Regions from separate parts of the Homo sapiens genome. Here regions 1, 2, 3, 4, 5 and 6 are each linked to region 7. The links are contacts of gene promoters, found by promoter capture Hi-C in human tissues and cell types (Jung and others, 2019). All regions are on one chromosome and are shown on one strand. Each heading gives the region's core, a stretch centred on a gene start or on the middle of the fragment in contact. The rest is flanking DNA. Distances are from core to core; before and after follow the strand shown. Region 1 overlaps LINC02196 (long intergenic non-protein coding RNA 2196). Region 2 overlaps CFAP90 (cilia and flagella associated protein 90). Region 3 overlaps MTRR (5-methyltetrahydrofolate-homocysteine methyltransferase reductase). Region 4 overlaps FASTKD3 (FAST kinase domains 3). Region 5 has its middle 100 kb from the start of LINC02196. Region 6 overlaps ADCY2 (adenylate cyclase 2). Region 7 holds the start of ADCY2 (adenylate cyclase 2).

Evidence for each region. Contacts are between HindIII fragments. The study calls those that stand out against the background at their distance.
Region 1: a contact is called between a fragment that was not itself captured here and the fragment with the promoter of ADCY2 in region 7, in 1 of the 25 tissues and cell types used here (dorsolateral prefrontal cortex).
Region 2: a fragment that was not itself captured here is called in contact with the fragment with the promoter of ADCY2 in region 7 in 1 of the 25 tissues and cell types used here (dorsolateral prefrontal cortex).
Region 3: a fragment that was not itself captured here is called in contact with the fragment with the promoter of ADCY2 in region 7 in 1 of the 25 tissues and cell types used here (hippocampus).
Region 4: a contact is called between a fragment that was not itself captured here and the fragment with the promoter of ADCY2 in region 7, in 1 of the 25 tissues and cell types used here (H1 embryonic stem cells).
Region 5: a fragment that was not itself captured here is called in contact with the fragment with the promoter of ADCY2 in region 7 in 2 of the 25 tissues and cell types used here (heart left ventricle and mesendoderm cells).
Region 6: a fragment that was not itself captured here is called in contact with the fragment with the promoter of ADCY2 in region 7 in 2 of the 25 tissues and cell types used here (bladder and dorsolateral prefrontal cortex).

The regions. Positions count from the first base shown.
Region 1 is chr5:7,094,566-7,097,346 of GRCh38, forward strand. The region is part of intron 1 of LINC02196 (long intergenic non-protein coding RNA 2196); the gene reads left to right. Among named protein-coding and RNA genes, the nearest start is that of LINC02196, 59 kb to the left of the region's middle. The HindIII fragment of the contact is 3,716 bases long and covers 1-2,781 here.
Region 2 is chr5:7,839,259-7,841,991 of GRCh38, forward strand. All of the region lies in intron 1 of CFAP90 (cilia and flagella associated protein 90), which reads right to left. Among named protein-coding and RNA genes, the nearest start is that of CFAP90, 11 kb to the right of the region's middle. The HindIII fragment of the contact is 6,768 bases long and covers 1-2,733 here.
Region 3 is chr5:7,876,619-7,879,318 of GRCh38, forward strand. MTRR (5-methyltetrahydrofolate-homocysteine methyltransferase reductase) reads left to right here. Exons shown (of 15, transcript NM_002454.3): 5 at 1,326-1,704. Among named protein-coding and RNA genes, the nearest start is that of MTRR, 8.8 kb to the left of the region's middle. The HindIII fragment of the contact is 4,993 bases long and covers 1-2,700 here.
Region 4 is chr5:7,859,554-7,862,564 of GRCh38, forward strand. FASTKD3 (FAST kinase domains 3) reads right to left here. Exons shown (of 7, transcript NM_024091.4): 5 at 2,030-2,099; 6 at 1,596-1,710. It also overlaps a transcript of MTRR not described here. Among named protein-coding and RNA genes, the nearest start is that of FASTKD3, 8.0 kb to the right of the region's middle. The HindIII fragment of the contact is 6,566 bases long and covers 1-3,011 here.
Region 5 is chr5:6,931,740-6,934,487 of GRCh38, forward strand. No RefSeq gene overlaps it. Among named protein-coding and RNA genes, the nearest start is that of LINC02196, 100 kb to the right of the region's middle. The HindIII fragment of the contact is 4,609 bases long and covers 1-2,748 here.
Region 6 is chr5:7,788,902-7,791,856 of GRCh38, forward strand. ADCY2 (adenylate cyclase 2) reads left to right here. Exons shown (of 25, transcript NM_020546.3): 20 at 741-899. Among named protein-coding and RNA genes, the nearest start is that of CFAP90, 61 kb to the right of the region's middle. The HindIII fragment of the contact is 4,487 bases long and covers 1-2,955 here.
Region 7 is chr5:7,394,376-7,397,395 of GRCh38, forward strand. It overlaps ADCY2 (adenylate cyclase 2), which reads left to right and starts at 1,763. Exons shown (of 25, transcript NM_020546.3): 1 at 1,763-2,131. The coding sequence starts at 1,922. LOC107986403 (a long non-coding RNA gene) reads right to left here and starts at 1,574. Exons shown (of 2, transcript XR_001742597.2): 1 at 1-1,574. RefSeq lists enhancers at 313-1,078, 1,079-1,844. The HindIII fragment of the contact is 8,449 bases long and covers 1-3,020 here.

The sequences.
Region 1 (2,781 bases), core at 232-2,731, 300 kb before region 7:
AATCGAATGTAAGTGGTAGTCTTGTGGGTATTTGTCTTTCTGTTTCAATATTCTTAAAATGAAATATTAGAAAACAAGTAAGAAGGCACTTTCTAGTGTAGTCAGACTGAATTAAATATTTAGCCTCAATGATGTACATAATTCATGGTTACGAGTCCAGAACAGTTGCAAGGAGCAACAGTTTCTATTAGAAAATGGGCCCAAATAAAACATCTTTGCTAGGCGTTAGTGTTGGGACCAGCAGAATGAGCCATGGTCAGCACCAAGGACAGTGACAAGTGACAAATGTGTCACTACCCCTTTCACATTGCACTGGAAACCTCAAGGCTTTTACAGGAGAAAGCACCCCGCCAATCTTTAGACTGAATTGTTTTTCATTTCAGCAGAAATATTTTAACCACCATTTATCCAACTTGTCCATTCATTACACACCTAATAGGCACTGTGATTGGACATTATTTGAATCCAGAAAGCAGTAAGATGTGGCCCCAACAGACCCAATCAAAAAGCTGAATGAACGCATACTAATTGCACACTCAGGTGCTCAGTACCCTGTGGAAAATGCAAGGTCTGTTCTCCTGTTAAATGCCTTTGGTGTCACTTTGCAAAGCTGATTACCTGAATATCCTTTCACATGTCAAATGCAAAATGCAAATATACAGCAATGTTCTCAAATTCGTATGTTGTGAATGGCTCATATTACATATAAAAATATATAAATAATAATATATAGTAAGTGCTACACATAGCACTATATATACTTGTACTGTATTTAATAATGACATATTACATATTTGTATTATATATAAAATATACACATTAGTACTACGTAATATAAGTTATATTTAAATATGTGTTATATAACATTAACATAAATGTGTTCTATATTATTATTGTACATATACATAGTAACCATATAACCACCATCTAAATATTATATAAGAATAATTATATTTCAGAAATGTAAGCTTGCCAAACAGTTGCGTGAAAACACTTTTAAAACTATAAACTTAATTACAAATATCCAGATGTTTCAAGCTGGTTCTTTGGTTTACAAATGCTGAAACATCCCTTAGGAACTTCTTATGTAGTTATTTGAAAATGGTAAGAAGTGATTTTGATAAGAATGACTTGAGGGTCAGATCAGAATTTGGAGTTTTTTCTAACAATTGGGAGAATAATGACATTATGAAACTCTTGTTAAGTTATGAGAATAATGTTTGTTATCATCCTTAAGATAGGTGTTTTGCTAAAGCATTGAAGAATATATTTGTTTGTAATTTAAATGAAATTGTACTGTTATATTTTTCTATAAATTGACCTTTTCCTTTTACATTTTCTTTGAAGAGCTTACCTTCTGCACTTACAGAAAAGAGCAACCAAAATGTATTCTACCAGAAAAAAAGGAAAAGAACAGCAAAGTAAATGAGTTACCTTCTTTAGTTTTCTAGATGGTTACCCTGTCTCACTTTGATTTTTCTTTAATGTTTAATTCATCTGGATGCTAAGCAGTCTCTAGCTGAGATTTTCTATCAAGACCAAGGCAGTGTGGTGGGCCAAATAGGATAGTTAAGATCAAATCTAACTAGGAGACCACTTAGTGGTTGCCAGGGGACAGGGACACAGTTGAGGGTTGGTGCAACTTTATAAGGACAGCACTGAGGAATGCCTTTTTTGGTGACATAACAGTTCTGTATTCTGATTGTGGTGGTGGTCACATATGGGATCACAGTGCAGAGAACTGCATGTGCACACACATACACACATTGACACATATACATACACACACATACACACACATTGACACAGACATATGCAAATGTACACAGGTACCCAGGCATACACACATGCATATATGCATGCATGCATACCCACACACAAACACACACACAACAATCACACATGTGCATACACACATGCACACAGACATTGACACACATGTACACACATACAAATACACATGCACACACATGCGTACATACACATGCATGCATACCAACACAGAGACACATATACCCATTATCACACAGATGCACACACATATGCCCACTTACACATATACATACACAATGCACACATACACAGATACACATACACACATATACACCTACACATGCAGATACACACGTAAATACATGCCTGACAACACTGGTGGTAGAGGCTGAGACTCCACTTAAATCCAATTTCTTAAAAACAAATCTGACCACAAAAAATCTGACAATCTGTCTGATGAAAATAATTATAAATAGGTAAAGTGTTCTTAAACGAGTGCTCTGTCTCCTTTATCTTCTTTAATTGTTAGATTATATTTATTTATTTTAGCTTTTTATTGCTCAGGTTACCAGCAGTTAAGAAGCTGTTTATTGATGTCCCAGTAACTAAAAATTCTATTTTAAAACAGAGTTAATAATTTTAATAGCTCATGCAGGATCTCCACAGGTTATAGATGTTTAAAATAATATTCTAATTAGTAATAAATAGATTTTATAGCAACAGTATAAAATATTATAAGTATAGTACAACAGAACTTCAACATTCAGCTCCCCTGAGATGTAAACAGAACTCCTCTGATTGGAATTCCATGTCCGTCACTCACAGTCACCTTGGAAACCCCTTCACCTGTGAACTGGTGCACTCCCTCGGGCTAAAGACCATCAGCTGTATTTTTCTCCAATTCCCAGCATCAGCCTCTAGCCTAGGACTGGGTACGAGATGCAAGCTCCGTGGTTTGTGTTGGCTGACTTGTTCATGCAAACCCTCGTAATACTTGCGGGCCCCACC
Region 2 (2,733 bases), core at 74-2,573, 440 kb after region 7:
AGATTTGGGTGGCGACACAGCCAAACCATATCACCCAGGTCTGAGGGACAGCCCCCTCAGAGTGGATGGCACGAACAGCAGGGAAAATAGATCCTCCAGTGGCTGCCTGGTCTTGTATTTTCTTCTGCACAGTGCTTTTAATCAGGTCCAACCCTCCTGAACTGAGTGAGCCCCCACTGGGGTGCTTGGATTATCCTGGGAGAAAAACTCTGAAGAAGGAAGAATGGACTTAAGAATAGAATGAGAATGCAATTACTGTTATCAGAATGAGAAAGGATATGTTCATTCATTTTGTTCCCTATATTGAAGAAGCCCAGTGTAATATGCAACTTTACAGAGAAAATGCCTATTTCTTCTCATTCTAATCAGGTCTCCTGAAACACTATAAAAGTAACCACTATGAGCAGCCATGCCTGCCTCACAATCCCTGGATTAGTTGCCAACAGTCTTCTACATCTTAGTGTTTACTAGGAATCTCACTGCTTGTGGGTGTGGAGTGATCAGAGTCTTAGGAAGCTTATTTTTGTGCAGATTTTGCATATTCAGAACTTTCCAGAGTAAAAGTGAATTTTTCTATCATTGAAAAATAAGGACCAAAAAAAATAAATTCATCAGCAGGCAGGCAGCCTCGCTTTGAAATGTGACTATCCATTTTCAATAACTAATCAAACTGGAAATCTGTCTTTTCCCAGGATTTTAATTATTAATCTTTCTTTTTTTTTCTTTTATTCTCGTATGGCTTGAAGCAAGATGATACTAATAAAAACCAGTTGGGATTTAGATGCTATCACAAGACAGAGCTTCTGAAATTACTGAAATTTTGCCATTAAAATCCCTCAAGGAATTGTCTCTATTTCACAGATGATGTTCCTTTAAAAAAAAAGCAAAACAAAATATCCATTTTTCACCTTGTGATCTCTCCCTTTGTGTTTTGAATATTGTTAAAATGTAGCATGGCCTTAGCCTGGTCATGGTGCTTGATCACCTACCCTCAGTTTCCCTCACAGTGACCTCCACCCCTGATCCTGAGAAATTGCTCTGGTCCACAGGCGGCCTGGGCAGATGCTGTGGGTAGAGTGGAGGCCTCCAGTTTTCAACCTCCACAGCACATTAGGCCTACTATTGTGCAAGACACTATGCCAGGCTCCAGGACAGAAATGGGGAGTCCCTACCTTAAAAGAGACCACAGACTGAGAAGAGAAATTAACCCATTAGTTATGAACCACAGAAAAATATAAATGGAATAAGAGAGGTGTGCACAAAGTACAGTAGCAGAAAAGAATGAATGATGGGCAATTGCTTGGGCTGAGGGTAGGAAGTGCAGGTGACTGAAGGTGAGATGGGAGACTGCACCACACTGCTGTACTTAGAACCACTGCCGAACAACCTCACTGGATGTGGTCAGCTGACTTGTGTCCTCCAAGCATTCACATGTTGAAGTCCTAATCCCCAGGAACTCTGAATGTGACCTTATTTGGAATAAGGTAATTGAAGATATAATCAATTATGGTGAGGTCATACTGGAGTAGGGTAGACCCCCGAGCTAATATGACTGATGTCCTTATTGAAAGGAGAAATTTGGACATGAACATTCAGAGGGAAGGTGATGTGAAGAGACACTGGGAGAAGATGGCCGTCAACAAGCCAAGGAGAGAGGCCTGGAACAGAGCCTTCCCTCACAGCCCCTAGAAGGAACCAATCCGGCTGAATTGCAACAAAGCAAAAATTGACATATAGTATCTAATTAAACTTCAGAGCTCTGCACAGCAAAAGAAACTACGAACTGCATAAACAGACAACCTACAGAATGGGAGAAAATTTTTGCAACCAATGTATCTGACAAAGGTCTAATATCCAGCATCTACAAGAAACAAATTTACAAGAAAAAAAAACCCCGTTAAAAATTGGGCAAAGGACATGAACAGACACTTCTCAATAGACACACATGTGGCCAACAAACATGAAAAAAAGCTCAACATCACTGATCATTAGAGAAACGCAAATCAAAACCACGATGAGATACCATCTCATTCCAGTCAGAATGGATATTGAAAAGTCAAAAAACAACAGATGCTGGTGAGGTTGTGGAGAAAAAGGAATGCTTCTACACTGTTGGTGGGAGTGTAAATGAATTCAACCATTGTGGAAGACAGTGTGGCGACTCCTCAAAGACCTAGAGGCAGAAATACCATTCAACCCAGCAATCCCATTACTGAGTATATACCCAAAGGAATAGAAATCATTCCATTATAAAGACACATGCACACGTATGTTCAACGTAGTACTACTCACAATAGCAAAGATATGGAGTCAACCTAAATGCCCATCAATGATAGACTGGATAAAGAAAATGTGGTACATATACACCACAGAATACTATGCAGCCATAAAAAGGAATGAGATCACATCCTTTTCAGGGACATGGATGGAGCTGGAGGCCATTATCCTTAAAAAATTAACACAGAAACAGAAAACCAAATCCCGCATGTTCTTACTTACAAGTGAGGGCTAAATGATAAAAACATAGGGACACATGGGGGGTGGGCAACACACACTGGGGCCTGTCAGAGGACGGGACGTGGGAAGAGAGAGAAGATCAGGAAGAATAGTTAATGGATGCTGGGCTTACTACCTGGGTGATGGGATGATCTGTACAACCCACCATGGCATACGTTTACGTATGTAACAAACCTACATATCCTTCACAAATTAAAAGTTGGAAATTAGAAAAAA
Region 3 (2,700 bases), core at 61-2,560, 480 kb after region 7:
CACCACACTAAATGGGGTTACGAATGCACACTTGAGTCCAATACCTGGGTTCAAATCCTTGATCCCCCACTTACTGACTGAGATCTTGGTTGAATTAGTTAAGCTTTTTGTTCCTTGGTTTTTGCCTCTGTGCAATAGATAACAGTAATCTATTTACTGTGTAAGCTTCGTAGGAGGGTCAAACGGATTAATACATGTCGTCCTCTTAGAAGAGTGCCTGTCGTCATGTAGTAAACACTCAGTGAACGTTAGTTCTCCTCCTGGTTGTGCACACTATCACCTTAATATTTCTGAGTTGTGAGAGTGATATTTTACATGTAGCTGTTATTGTTGAACTGTAGTTTTATAAACTTGTTTTCACAAAGGCTCCTCAGGGCAGCTCTAATGTGTAACCACATTTTGAGTAGTGTACCACATGAGCACCTCCCGAGCACAGTGAAATGACAACCTGAGTCATAATGACACACGGGCCTGAAATCTGCCTCCTCTTGGTATTCATTTCGCTTTAGGAATTAGAATTTAATTGATCCTCCTTTGAGCTGTGATTAAAAGTGGTGTTATTTCCACAGCCCTGCCACAGTCTTATCCACTGACTCTACTTAAACTTCTCTGTTCAGGGAATGGCTGTTGTTATGATAATTTGTTAGTAGTAGGTGGACTGCCACATTTAAAAAATCTATTTATGATGAATTCAACTTTCCCAAAGGAGGGTTGCTTTTTTTTTCTCCTGTTGTCAGCCTCCCTGGGAATTTTACTAAAATAAAAAAATAAATAAAGGCTTTAACTATTTATTTAGTCCAAGGACTTGGCATTAATCCATAGTGATTTCTTGGTGATATTTTAATCTGTAGGAAACAGATCAGTAGATCAGTAAATTGGCTAGGCAAAAAAAAAAAAAAAAAAAGGTGCATTTGATGGATGGAATGAGCATTTGCAGCATTATGGTAGCCTTGGATTTTGGTTAAGTTCTGTTAGCATTAGTATGCCTATTTAAAATTATATCTTCTTAAAATAAAGTTTACCAATTCTGGAATATTAGGAGGAATTCTATTCCTGTCATCCTATTACTAGAATATCTTCCTATCCCTCTTCATTTCTTCTACCTTTATACATACTCATGTTTTCAGCTACGGTGCTAATGAACACATAATATATCCTGCTTGTTAAAACTTAATCATGAAGTATTTTTTGTATTCCGAATGGTCTTCATAGTGTTTCTAACAAGTGCATACTTTGCCAAATGGACAGACTGTCATTATCCTGTTCTGTGTTCAGATGGAGAACTTAGGCATTTGTTTTGTTTTTCGTTTGTTTTTACTGTCCAGTTTAGAACTTGTGGTTGAGCCGTGGATTGCTGGACTCTGGCCAGCCCTCAGAAAGCATTTTAGGTCAAGCAGAGGACAAGAGGAGATAAGTGGCGCACTCCCGGTGGCATCACCTGCATCCTCGAGGACAGACCTTGTGAAGTCAGAGCTGCTACACATTGAATCTCAAGTCGAGCTTCTGAGATTCGATGATTCAGGAAGAAAGGATTCTGAGGTTTTGAAGCAAAATGCAGTGAACAGCAACCAATCCAATGTTGTAATTGAAGACTTTGAGTCCTCACTTACCCGTTCGGTACCCCCACTCTCACAAGCCTCTCTGAATATTCCTGGTTTACCCCCAGAATATTTACAGGTACATCTGCAGGAGTCTCTTGGCCAGGTAAGGAAGTTTTTCTTTATGCTATAGATGCTATTTAATCATGGATGTTTGCTTTGGGCTTTTAAATTATTATTACATTAGAAGAGAGGTCAACAAACTATGGCTTACTGGCCCAATGTGGCCCAGAGCCTTTCTTTTGTAAATAGATTTTACTGGAACACAGCCATGCCTATTCATTTAGGTAGTGTCTATGACAGCTTTTGAGCTGCAATAGCAGAGTTAGTGGTTACCACAGGGGCCTGCAATGCCTAAGGCATTTGGCCCCTTCCAGTAAAAGTTTTCCCACCCAGGTATTACAAAAGGTCTTGTATTATTACTTCTGTATTTGAAGAAGTAGATAAGAACTCAGTTTCATCATTATTTTGGAGAACTAACAACTTGGTTTCTCATTTTAGATGAGTCAAACAGAGATGAGTTGTGTGGGCAGTGAGTTGAGTATCACATTGCATAATAGCTAATTTCTCCCCACAGGCAGTGTATGGTACCCTGAAGTTTTTCTAACCTGCTTAAAATAAGTTTCCAGAGCAGGCAGTCTTTGAATGCAGGGCTAAGCCCTCTTTCTGTTGAGTGGCTGTTTGGAGTTCCACATGGACTTTTCTTACAAAAACCACACCCTTACTGCAGCTATTACCAGTTTTAATTTCTTGTTTTTTTTAATGAAGACAGATTTAGACATTTAAGAAATAATTTGGATGCAGCATCTTTCTTGTATATTAGCACTGTTTGTAAACACCTGGTATGATAGCAATTTTTTTTAGCATCTTTTATAATGTCTTTCTAAAGCTTTCATGTAAGTATGATTTTGTGTATAAACAACTATGGGCTATTGTTTTTGCACTTGTACTTCATTATTTTGTGAATTGTTTAAGTGAGATAATTGCAGTAAGTGTATCTCAGTCTGGTTTGGGAACAGACACAACTTATGCCTGGACTGGTGGGAGCAGAGTGCAGTGTTGCACCACAGACAGGATCAGTTCATGGCAGCGGGGATAGAGA
Region 4 (3,011 bases), core at 115-2,614, 460 kb after region 7:
AAGTAAAACTGGTCAAGATCCTTCAAAATCTGAGGTTCCTCTGGCTATTGGTTACTTTGTTTGTTTCTTACACGCTTCCCCACAGCGGAATGTAAGCTCCTGGAAGGCAAATATCCCAACCAGCTTCTTCATCCTGTATCCCCAATGTCTAGAACAGTGCCTGGCACTGAGAAGGGGCTTGGTAAATATTTGATGAATTAATATGTAGAATATGCAAATAAGAATTAAACATGATCTCTTGTTCTCCAGGAGTTCACAACTTGGGTGGCAAGTTAAATTACACAATAAATATAAAAAACAAGCTGTAGGTTGGTGATCTAGTGCTAAGAGGGAGTGAGCATTTCATTAGATGAGGGTGGGGATGCCGACAAACTGCTGGAAGGTAGGTATTCAGAGAGCTGGAGGACGCAGCAGGGACAAAGAGGGAATGAAGAGGGAGAGAGCAGGAGGCGCAGCAAAGGAGAGAGTCTGCTCAGCTGGGAGCAGAGGGGCCAGGTAGTAATCATGTGCCTGCAGCCTGGCTGCAGGCCAACCATTGGAGGGTCTTGAATGTTAAGATGTAGAGAAGTTTTTACTTTATTCTGTAAGCAGTAAAGAAACATTGAAGCTTCTGAGTAGACACTGGCATGATTAGTTTTAGGAATATTCAGCTGGGGATGTGCAAGATGGAGAAAAAAGTCAGCAGATATGAAACCACAGTGCTGCCTAGTACTGACAGCTTAGAGAATTAGGGCAGCGCTCATTCTCACGCACTGCTGAGCCCTCACATAAGACCTTCTTACATTATCTACAGTGAAATATTTAAAAGGTCTTAAATATTAAGTGTTGGTGAAGCTCCTTATTTTAATGGATTATCTTGTTCATTTTTATTTATTAAATCAAGGAGAAATTAAAACAGAACATATATTCCAACAATTGAGTAATTCTAAAAGCAGGGTTAAGCATAGCTTATAATGAATATAGGTAGGCCCCACTTTTGAAAAATCAAAGCTCTGAAAATTCTGTATTTCAAAATATAAGTCAAGAGATTTAAGCCGAATTAACAACGTTGGGATTTAAACTAGACGTAAGATCGGTGGTCCACTGGGCTGGCAAACCAGTTAGTACTGTAAAAGCAAATTAAAATGGAGCCTGTGCCTGAAAAATCCCTGAGCAGACCAAGCCAGTTGGGCCTTGAAAATAACCTTAACTTTGCTTAAAGTGCAAATGTTAAGCAAAATTTAACTTGGGCTATTTCTTGTAGAAGCTTCTACTACAGAAAAACAGAACTTAAGCTCAACCAATCAGAAGCATCTCACAAACTAATAATTATATAACTAGGAACTTTCCACAGAATAGTTCAAACAAGGCAGCAAGAATATGTAACTGTAACCAGTCAAGTAGATTCTTTGTGTACTTGTGTTCTTCCTATAAAAGCCTCCCTCTTGGGTTCCCAAGCCATTTCGAGTTTTGTGCTGTCCAGTTCAATAATTGCTGCCTGATCAAATTCTTTAAAATTTTACTGTGCCTCAGATTACTTTTTAAAAGTAACCTGGAAAAATAATTTTGAAATAGGATTTGCTTTTGGGAAACAAAAAAAATAGGTGAAACCGTACCTGAACAACTTGATAACCGAGTAACTGTAGGTGTCTTTGTTTAATAGCTTCTTTCCCCAGTAAGTGTTTGCTATTGGAGCAAAACCTTTTTGGACCATCAATACACAGTGCTATCCTGAAAAATAAAAAAGGAGAAAAATACTTAATTTTTTAAATAATCCAAAATATTTATTATATATTTTAGTTGCCAAAGTTTATTTGGGATTTGGCTATTACTATGTGCCAATATTATTTTCAAATGAATCATGAATTTGATCTTATTAATATTAATGTTTATAAAATATTACAAGGAATTTCCCAACATGGTATTCTGAAATGTAGTATTTTAATTTCCAGAATCATATCTATTTTTTTCACCTTCTTGAGAAAAAGATACCGCTGCTTATTAGCCTCAACGAGTCTTGTAATGTGAAAAACACAACATTTTCCTGTACCTTTTATGGATATCTTCATTAGCTGTGGATGGCAATACAAATCCTTCTTCATCTAATTTAATTTCAACATCTGGTGAGAGAAGAAAGGAAAAATTCCTCGTGTGATACCCTCACAAACACTATCTTCCTGTATTCATTCCTTTGCTTTGCTTTGATTCCTTCCACCTTGCATTGATCAATTGGACTGAAGGCTGCAAAGTAATGACCACAACCAAACAATGGTGAGAATTTTAATTCAATTGGCTTTATGATCAATCAAGTCAGCCTTAAATTAAGAAAGCTCAATAACGCTAAACCACAGAATGGGTTCTGAAGTTATCTGGGGTATGACAAGAACCATGCATGCTTTCTCTTTCCCCTTATGATAGGTGGCAGAGATCCTTCAATCCAGACTGTGAAGAAAACCCTTGAGTTAAGACATTAGACATCTGTGCAACTCATAACTTCCATCATTCCAACTTGCAGTGCCTCCATGGTAAGTAAAGAAAGCATGCCACACCCAGACACCTGGTCTGCGAGCACGGAAGGCTTCCGAACTGTCCTTCCCCTCTGGTAAACTGCAGTTCCCTTCGTAAAGAGAAGAGAAGTGACCATCTGAAGCCTATGAACTGCTGTCCTTTACGAGAAGGCTTTCTTCTGCTCATCAAGTTAGAAGAACTGTAAGGACGGAGGACTTGGAGTCTCTTGTCAGTGCTGTCCAGGAGAAATTTCTGTGATGTGGAAATCTTTATAATGGTGCTGTCCAATTTGGCAGCCATGAGCCACATGTGGCTACTGAGCACTTACAATGTGACTGAGGAATTGAATTTTCTTAAACTTTTAATAATTTAAATTTAAATAGCCACATGGTCTAGTGGCTACTATATTTGGACAGTACAAGCCTAGGTTATAGTAGTAGCTAACAATTAGTGAGCATTTCCTACGTTCCAGGTACTATTTTATTTAGACCTTAAGTAAGTCTTTGAGGTCAATATTACTATCA
Region 5 (2,748 bases), core at 182-2,681, 460 kb before region 7:
TCAGTCTTGGGAGGGTGTATGTGTCCAGGAATTTATCCATTTCTCATAGATTTTCTACTTTGTTTGCATAGAGTTGTTTGTCATAGTCTCTGATGGTTATTTGTATTTCTTTGGGGTCAATGGTATCATCTACTTTGCCATTTCTAATTGTATTTATTTGAATCTTCTCTTCTTTATTAGTCTAGCTAGCAGCCAATTTATCTAACTTTTTGATGTGGGCATTTAGTGCTATTAATTTTCCTCTTAACACTGCCTTATTGTCTTAGGTGTGTCTCAAAGATTGTGGTATGTTGTATCTTTGTTCTCATTAGTTTCAAAGGACTTCTTGATTTCTACCTTAATTTCATTATTTACCTGAAAGTGATTCAGACGCAAGTTGTTTAATTTCTATGAATTGTATAAGAAATCTTTTCCTAAAGTCACAAATATTTTCTCTCCTGCATTTTCTTGTAAGAATTGTATAGTTTTAGGTTTAAATTTTGAGTTAGTGTTTATAAATGGAGCAACGCATAGGTCAGCTTTGTTTATTTATTTGCATATAGATGCCCAATTGTTCTAACACTGTTTGTTGCAGAGAGTATTCTTTCCTCATGAAATTATCCTTGCAACTTTGTTGAAAATCATTTGTTTATGTCTGTGTGGGCTCTGTCTTAGTACCCTCTATTCTTTTCCATTGATTTGTGTGTCTACCCTTTCATTAATACCACATTATCATGATCAAAGTAGCTTTATAGTAAGTCTTGAAATCAGGACATGGTGAGTTTTAAAAGTGGTTCTTCTTTATTTTTCAAAATTGTGTTTACCATTCTAGTTATTTTGTCTTTATGTATAAATTTTATAATCAACTTATGAATTTCAACAAAAATTCTGCTGCTGCATTTTTGATTGAGATTGCATTGAATCTAAAGATAAATTTGGGAAAGAACTGACAAGAAAATTGAACCTTCTAATCAATGAATATGGTGTATCTTTCCAGTTATTCAGGAACTTTTTCCTACTTTGGTGTTTTGTGGTTTTCAGCATAGAAATCTTGCAAATCTTCTGCTTATGTAAAACTCGTATTTCTTTTTTGGTGCTATGGGAAATGGTAGGTTTTTAGGTTTATCAATGTGTTTAATCTGTTTCTATGCCCATCATTGAATTCTTTTCCTTCATCCTAGGTTGACTTTACTACTTTAAATTTCCATCTTTGTCTCTCTGTAAATGTAATTAGAATCATATTGTGCACATTATTTCATAAACTTTCCCCTTATAATAAGCTTCATTTTCATAGCTGCCATCCCTTGAAAACATGCAACCATTTAGTTATGTAGAATTTTTAAGTTTTAACTATTAGTAAAGACAGTGAACATCTTTGTGTATATAATTCTTAAATAAAAGACTACTAATATCTTTTTAAAAAGTTTTCTGTTTCTTATTGAAAAACTTTTGATGGCAAATCACTTGAAGGGAAAATTTATTAGTAATATATTTAGTCATAAATTTGTAGTGTATGCAGAGTTCCAAAATGTTAAATGATATTAGAAGTCAGGTTGAAATATAAATTATCTATATACATGTTCAGTTCTACCATTTCTAAGTCCTGTTGACCAGATGAGATTGGCACAGTGTTTCTACTTGATTTTCCCAATTAATTTTTATACTCTGGGTATAGATGATGTGTATTGTCCATTATATGACTATCCTGCAATGCCTTTAGCTCTTCCCCTTTTGGTGGAGGTAATGATATTTGATTTGCTGCCATTACAGTCATTGCTCCAGCAAGCACCATTGTGCATATTCCTACATCCAGGTTTGAGGATTTTTCTCCAGTGTATTTTTTTTTTTTTTTGCCAGCCCCATCATTTGTAACTTCGTGTCATTTTGTTAGGAGTGTCTTGTGAACAGCATATGGCTATTTCTTTTAAATCAATCTGGCAGTCTGTCTTTCAGTAGGCAGCTTCAGTCCTGGTATGGGCTGTAGCAAGTACTGCTGCTGCTGTCCATCCCTTCTGCCCACGTGAGTTCTCCTGCATGCAGGTTCTGACATCTCTTTCTACAGTGGTGGAGTCAGCCCTCCTTTTTGCTTGGGGACATTCTCAGGTGCTGCAGAAACTTGCTGTGCCATGGACAAGTTTATTGTGAAATCAGGAGGTTTCATAGGGAGCCACACAGAGGCAACCATGGTGAGTCGGTGCATGAATGCCTCCCCAATCTGATGGGCGATGCTGCAGTTTGTTTCTCACGGTTTCAGAGGGACCCTCTGGGGACTGAGCCACAGGTGCCCCAAGTGCTAACCCGCTCATTGGTGCACCTTAATTAGGTTGATCACATTTCCCCTTTCTCACCATGCTTGTTGGAATCATCACTCAAATAAACTACCTGGGCCCAAGTTCTTGTCTCAGGTCTGCTTGGGAGTCCATACTAACATTGTTTGATTATAAGTATCAACTCTTTTTTGTGTTTTCTGTTAACCTTATTTTTAAAAAAATTCTTCCCGTTATTTCTGTCTTTTACTGGATCGATTTAGTTTTCTTTGGTTCATTCATTCTTCTGGCTTGGCAACTATAGATTACCTTTCTATTCCTTCAAAGGTTTCTTTAGCTTTTGAAGACATACACATCAATATAAAATTTCTAATACAGTCCAAATTTACTCTTATTTTATTTGTTTTATTAAGAAATACAATGACTTCAGTATGCTTTAACTTTCCCTCCTCTGATTTCTGAATTTTTCTTCCCTTCATATTCCTTTTAATTTTTGTCAATA
Region 6 (2,955 bases), core at 124-2,623, 390 kb after region 7:
TTTACATCATAGGAGGCACAAAATGATGCCAAGACCCAAAAGACTCTTTGTCAGTAATTGGGCCTCTCCATTCCTACAATGTTAGTAATAACTACTTTTAAAATACATTATATTTTAATACATTATAAAGCATGAACACAGGTTTTTACTAACAGGCACTATCTTAATTAATATCAAAATGAACTTTTCTCTAAATGTAACGAATGGCATTCTGTCAGAACAGCACAATCCCAAGTGGAAGAAAAATCCATATTTTGCAATGATTACATAATTATACAATTTGTGTTAGGGAAAAACTAATTTACAAATGCTAAAGGCAAACTGCCATAAACGAACAATACAGTTTTTATTCAAATCATCAAAAAATGCACTCTCTCTACAGAGGTATTTTTCATGTATTCATCATTTATATTCTACAATTGCCTCTTTTCAAAAAATAATTTGAGCCCTCTTTTAGTAGCATAACTTTGCAGGAAGCTTTAATGGCGCTTTGAATTTAAGCCTCCATATAGCTGATTTCCCTGTTTCTGAGGCTGGTTCTTGTTTTTTGCAAATCCATGTCAGAGGTTGACTGAAGGACATTTCAGGGACACAGAGGGCTTTATGGGGAGGGTGGAAGTTCTGTTTGGGGGTTCTTTTTTCGGTTTCATTTTGTTCTTTTTGTTTTCTCTTTAAAACCTCCACTCTCTGGCAGGACAAGATGCCTATTGTTTCTTTACCTCTGTGTCCTCTTGTAACAGAATGAATATTACTGTAGGTTAGACTTCTTATGGAAGAACAAATTCAAAAAAGAGCGGGAGGAGATAGAGACCATGGAGAACCTGAACCGCGTGCTGCTGGAGAACGTGCTTCCCGCGCACGTGGCTGAGCACTTCCTGGCCAGGAGCCTGAAGAATGAGGTCAGACCAGGGGGGCTGGGGGCTGGGGGAGGGGGCTGGATGCCATGATGACCTGGGTGAGGGCTGAAAGCTTCTTCAGTGACATAAAGGCTGCAGTACTTCACACATCTGAGTGTTCAAATTGGCCAAGATTGGCTTGAATTGTTCAGTTTTCAAGGAGATATTGATTGGTTGTAGAGATATCCGTTGAGAATAGTGGGTTAGAATGACCTCTAAAAGTCTGAGTCTGGAGGTGGATTCATTATTAGAGATTTTTTCCCCAATCATGTAAAGTTCTGAATGTCTTTTATGAGGCACTAGGATCCCAAATATGCCTCCAAAGAAGCCACTGCTCTCTCCCCATTGTGGGAGGAGGCCTGCCTTACCAGCACGCAATGGAGGCTCAAACCAAGAGGCAACGTTAAACCATGCCTCCCACACGCCCCCTGTTTCCCCACACTCAGCTTCCCTGACAGCCTTCCAAGGCTCTTAGAATTTCAAAGATATCAGATACACAGTGAGTGTGACAGGATTTAGGAGTTATCTACACAAGAGCAGACCAAAGACTTGAGTCCATCCATTAGAGTGGATAGAAATGGGAATTTCATGGAGTGTTTATCCAAATGGATTAGCTAGAGTTGCAAAGACTACAATGTCAGTTAAATATTGAAATGGGTTTTGAAGAGATGTTGTGAGATGTCTTTAATATTGCTGAAGTGCAAGAGAAAGCAGATATGTCTACATTTGGACTTAACGTGAGAAACATGTATCTGAGCATCCACAGTACGCAAAGCCCTGCGCTCATTTCTGTGGTGTTTCCCAGATGTCTGAGATGTGTAAACGAAGAAGTGTCTGAGACAGGTCTCAATCAAGTTAGAAGTTTATTTTCCAAGGTTGAGGATGGTGCCCAGGAAAAAGAAACACAAGTTACACTAGGATTCCTGGCCTGTGCTTTTCCCAAAGAGAGTTTTGAAGACTCCAATACTGAAAGGGGAAAGAGTGGACAGTAGGGGAAGGAGGAAAAGGAATAAAAAGAGAAACGGGGTAGACAAGAGATGGTTACATTCTTGTGAGGCTTGATTAGTGCTCATTGAAACCACATTTTCCATATGAAAAGAGAGGAGTCAGGAAAAGCCCATTATGCCTTCCTCTGCTTGAGCCGAGGGATGATTTCTGGTCTTGTCTTTGTCCAGTACCTGTGAAGATCAGCTATTAATTTGCATTGCCAGGATAAGAGTCAACAGAACTCTGTTTTCTGGTCAGTTTTTTTTTGGGGGGGTGTCTATTCTGAAAGATTTCAGGGCCCACAAGGAATTTTTTCCTGAGCAGTTGTGAGGGAGGCCACCTGGGGTGCTCCGTGGCCCTTCTATGTTGCAGCCATCCGTGTGGGAACAAAAAGCAGGTAGTTTCTTGCATGACTCAGTTCCCAAGCTTAACTTTTAGTGAGTTTGGGGTCCTGAGATTTTTTTTTTCAGAGGTGTAACCCCTGTTCTTAGGACATTTTCACTGAGGCATGGGAGTGCATGCGCAAAAGAGGTGGGGGTCACCTGTAGATGGATGAACTCCTTAATGGATAAGCTCAACCTGGATGATACCAGAACACAAAGCAACCTGCAGTGAGAAGCCTTGGAACAGTATTTTTCTGTAGCGGATTTGAAGTTGGCATTAAGAAGAAGGTGCCAGGTGGCAGATGAGGTGCTAGACATCACCACTCCCATCTTCCTGGAAATATTCAGGGCACAGTGGGCCTTCCAGGGCTACACAACAAGTCTCATGGCCCACTGGCTTTCCTATCTCTTCTCCTGGTGTTTACTACATTTGGTGGGTTCTTCAGCACCTGATTTTCCTATTGATCACAGGTAATAAAATTACAATGTCTATTAAAGGGCCCTCTGTTCTCGTTAACAGGAGTCTCCAGCCCATTTTTAAATTCAGCAAGGTCCCCATGTTTCCCCTGCCCTGTAGCCAGGCTGGTGGTGGCCCAGGATACAGAGATGAATGGGATTAGAGGTGGCCTCATCCTCCGTGGGCGCCTCCTGGGGATAGGATCCTGTTATCTCCAAGGACACTGGGATGT
Region 7 (3,020 bases), core at 513-3,012:
CTCCCTGCCTCTGGTGTCTATGAGATCTGCGGGTGAGCTGTGCAGCTCCTGAGCCCTCATCCTTAGGCCCTGTGGGCACTGACGGATGCTAAAATGAAAACCTCTGGAAGGATCCGTGCCCGGCCTGGCCCTGTGCTCAGGGTAACGCAGCTACCTAGCTTACATGCCCTCTGCCAGCGAGGAGGACAGGACAGCCAGGGAGGCGGGGCATGGGGCCATTCGAGAAGGTTCTGAGGTCTTAGGTGGTGACAAGGCTGAGTCCTGAGAGCTGGTCATCTCCTGGAAGAGATGAAAAGTGCATGGAACAGCCCTCTGGGGCTGCCCTCTGGGATGCTCGCTGGTGGCAGGAGAAGGGAGGGCTCTTGTGCCTTGGATTCCTTGGGGTAAGGCTTTGGGGGAGGAGGTGGGATTTGGGGGCTCTTTGGGCCGGACCACACTCGAATAGGAGGAAACTTCCAGAAGGGTGGGTTCCTTTGGTGATAAGCAATGAAGCCCCTTCGGCCCCCAGGGCGAAGGCCAGCGGCCTCCGCTCCCACGCGTGTCGGGAGGGGACACTGTCCCTGGTGACATCCGCCCCCACAACGCTCCTGCCGGGTCTCTAGCGCCTCCTGCGTCCAGGCCCCCAAGGTGACAGGGAGGGAGCTACTCCCAGGGCCGACCCGCCCGCTCCCGCGCCCAGCCGCTCTCCCCGGCGCCCCTTTGCCGCCATCCCCGCTCAGCAGAGGGGCTCGGCGAGGACCACGACCAGCCACGGGGCAGCTCTGTAAACCTGTGATATGACAGGCTTATACGGCACCTCCAAAGTGTGACTGAAGCTGAGCGTGCAGGGCGCAACGGACGCTGCCCCCGCGAGGCCGTGGCGGGGGCTCCCAGTGCAGTCACTGCCGCTTCACTTCCACATGGTGCCGGTCTCCAGTTAGGTCCCCTGGCGTTTCCGCGCCCTGCCGCCCTCGCAGGGAGCCCCGGCCCTCTCAAGAGGGTGGAGAGGATGGGGGAGCCCTCAACCCTGCTACGCTGAGGGGAAGAAGGGCTGGACGGCAAACCGGTGCCCACCGCGGGGAGGCGGGAAGGGTGGGAAATCCTCTCCAGCTCCCCAAAAGAGTGAAAAGGAGGGAGACCCCGCTGTCCTCTGACCCGCGTACTAAAGGAGGGACCCCCCGGGTCCTCTGACCCCGGCTGCGCTCTGTGACTGTGGGGGAGGGTGGGAGCAGGCCCCGCAGCCCACTAAGGGGTGGAGGAAACAGGAGGGTGGCAGCGTCCCTGCCCGCTGACCTTGAGGTAGTGGAGAGGAGCTGAGGAGCCCCGCAGTGCTCCGAGCCAGGTGGGGCGGGGGGAGTGGTGGGGGTAGGACTCCCTCCCTCCACCCCTTAGGCTGTGTTCTCACTTCGTAGCGGGGAGGGCCGTCCCTCCCACCCCACCCACGCTGCACTCGGGATAGGGCAGAGGAGGTGGACGACCTGGTGGCTGAGTGTGGGAGGCCGGCGGGCGAGGACGACCCCGGGCCGGGGCGCAGCGGGAGCCCCTCAGTTCGCCACTCCCCCCACCGTACAGCCCCCGCCGTCCCCAGCCTGCAGCCGGGCCGTCGGGTGGGGGCCGACACCGCCCCTGCACGGAGGCCGGCTGCGCGCGGGGCGGGGAGCGGCGGGCGGAGGGCCCCGTGGAACCCGCCCCCTCCCGCGCGGTGGCGGTGGCGGCGGCGGCGCCGGGAGCTGCCCCCGAGGCCGCCGCCCGGCCCCCGCCCGCGCGTCAGCGCGCCCAGCCCGGGGCGCCGAGCTCCGCCCGCGCCGGAGGCCCCTGCGCGCAGCTCCGGGTGCCGGCAGCCGGGCCGGCCGAGGCGGCGCGGGGGTGGGACGCGGGCGGCCGCGGCGAGCGGCGCTGCCCGGGCCGGGCGCGCACGGCGGGCGCCCTGTGAGCGGCCCCGATGTGGCAGGAGGCGATGCGGCGCCGCCGCTACCTGCGGGACCGCTCCGAGGAGGCGGCGGGCGGCGGAGACGGGCTGCCGCGGTCCCGGGACTGGCTCTACGAGTCCTACTACTGCATGAGCCAGCAGCACCCGCTCATCGTCTTCCTGCTGCTCATCGTCATGGGCTCCTGCCTCGCCCTGCTCGCCGTCTTCTTCGCGCTCGGGCTGGTGAGTGGCCTCCCCGCGGGTCCAGCGCCGCGCCTTCCCCGGCCCTGAGAGGAGCCCGGCCAGCCGAGCCGCGTCCCGCTCCGGGCTGCCCCTCGGCCCGCGGCAGCCCCTCGGCCCGCGGCAGCCCCTCGGCCCGCGGCTCCCTGCTTCTCCTGCTGGCCCGCGGCCCGGTGGACTCTGGCAAGGGCTGCGGGCGGGAGAAAAGTTTCCTGGGAAGGCTCTTCCCAAAATAAAGTTCCCGAGGTGTTCACCAGGTGGACGGGCAGGGCGTGTGCTTTTTGCATCTTTGCGCACCCGCTGGCAAACTCTGCGCTTTCCGCCGGGCACCGCTGCCCGCAGCGCTGGAATAGGTCTTCCCCGACTCAGCCCTGGGCTTCCTGGGCGAGTCGCTGTCTCCTGCCCGGTTCCACTGGCATGGCCCCACAGTTGGCATTTTAGTTGGGATTGGGCGTTATTCAACTCTGCAGAAAGCCTGCCTTGGGAAAGTGGTTAATGACAAGGAAAATGAAGAAGAAAAATTAAGTATACATCTTTGCCTTTAAATCTGTATGCATTTAGCTCTTTAGCCCGATAGACGGAAAGTGATGTGGTGTTGACTTGTGAATCAATCTTTCATCTCAGAGACTACAGTTAAGAAGCGTTTGGGACGGACGATTGCTTTCCCGTTTCTAAAGAAGTAACGTGTTTAGGGTTTTGGACAGGTTATTAAAGTGGATTTCATCACGAGGAGTATAATGCAGCTCAACAGCTGATGTCAGTTTTGCCAGTTTATATTTTTCAAGCAGAAATCCTTGGCTCGCTCCCTTGAAAAGTGAGGGGAAGTCTGTAGATGGCGATAACTTCCTGTTACTGATCTCTGAGTGTGTGGTTCAAACTTTTGCACTGCCTG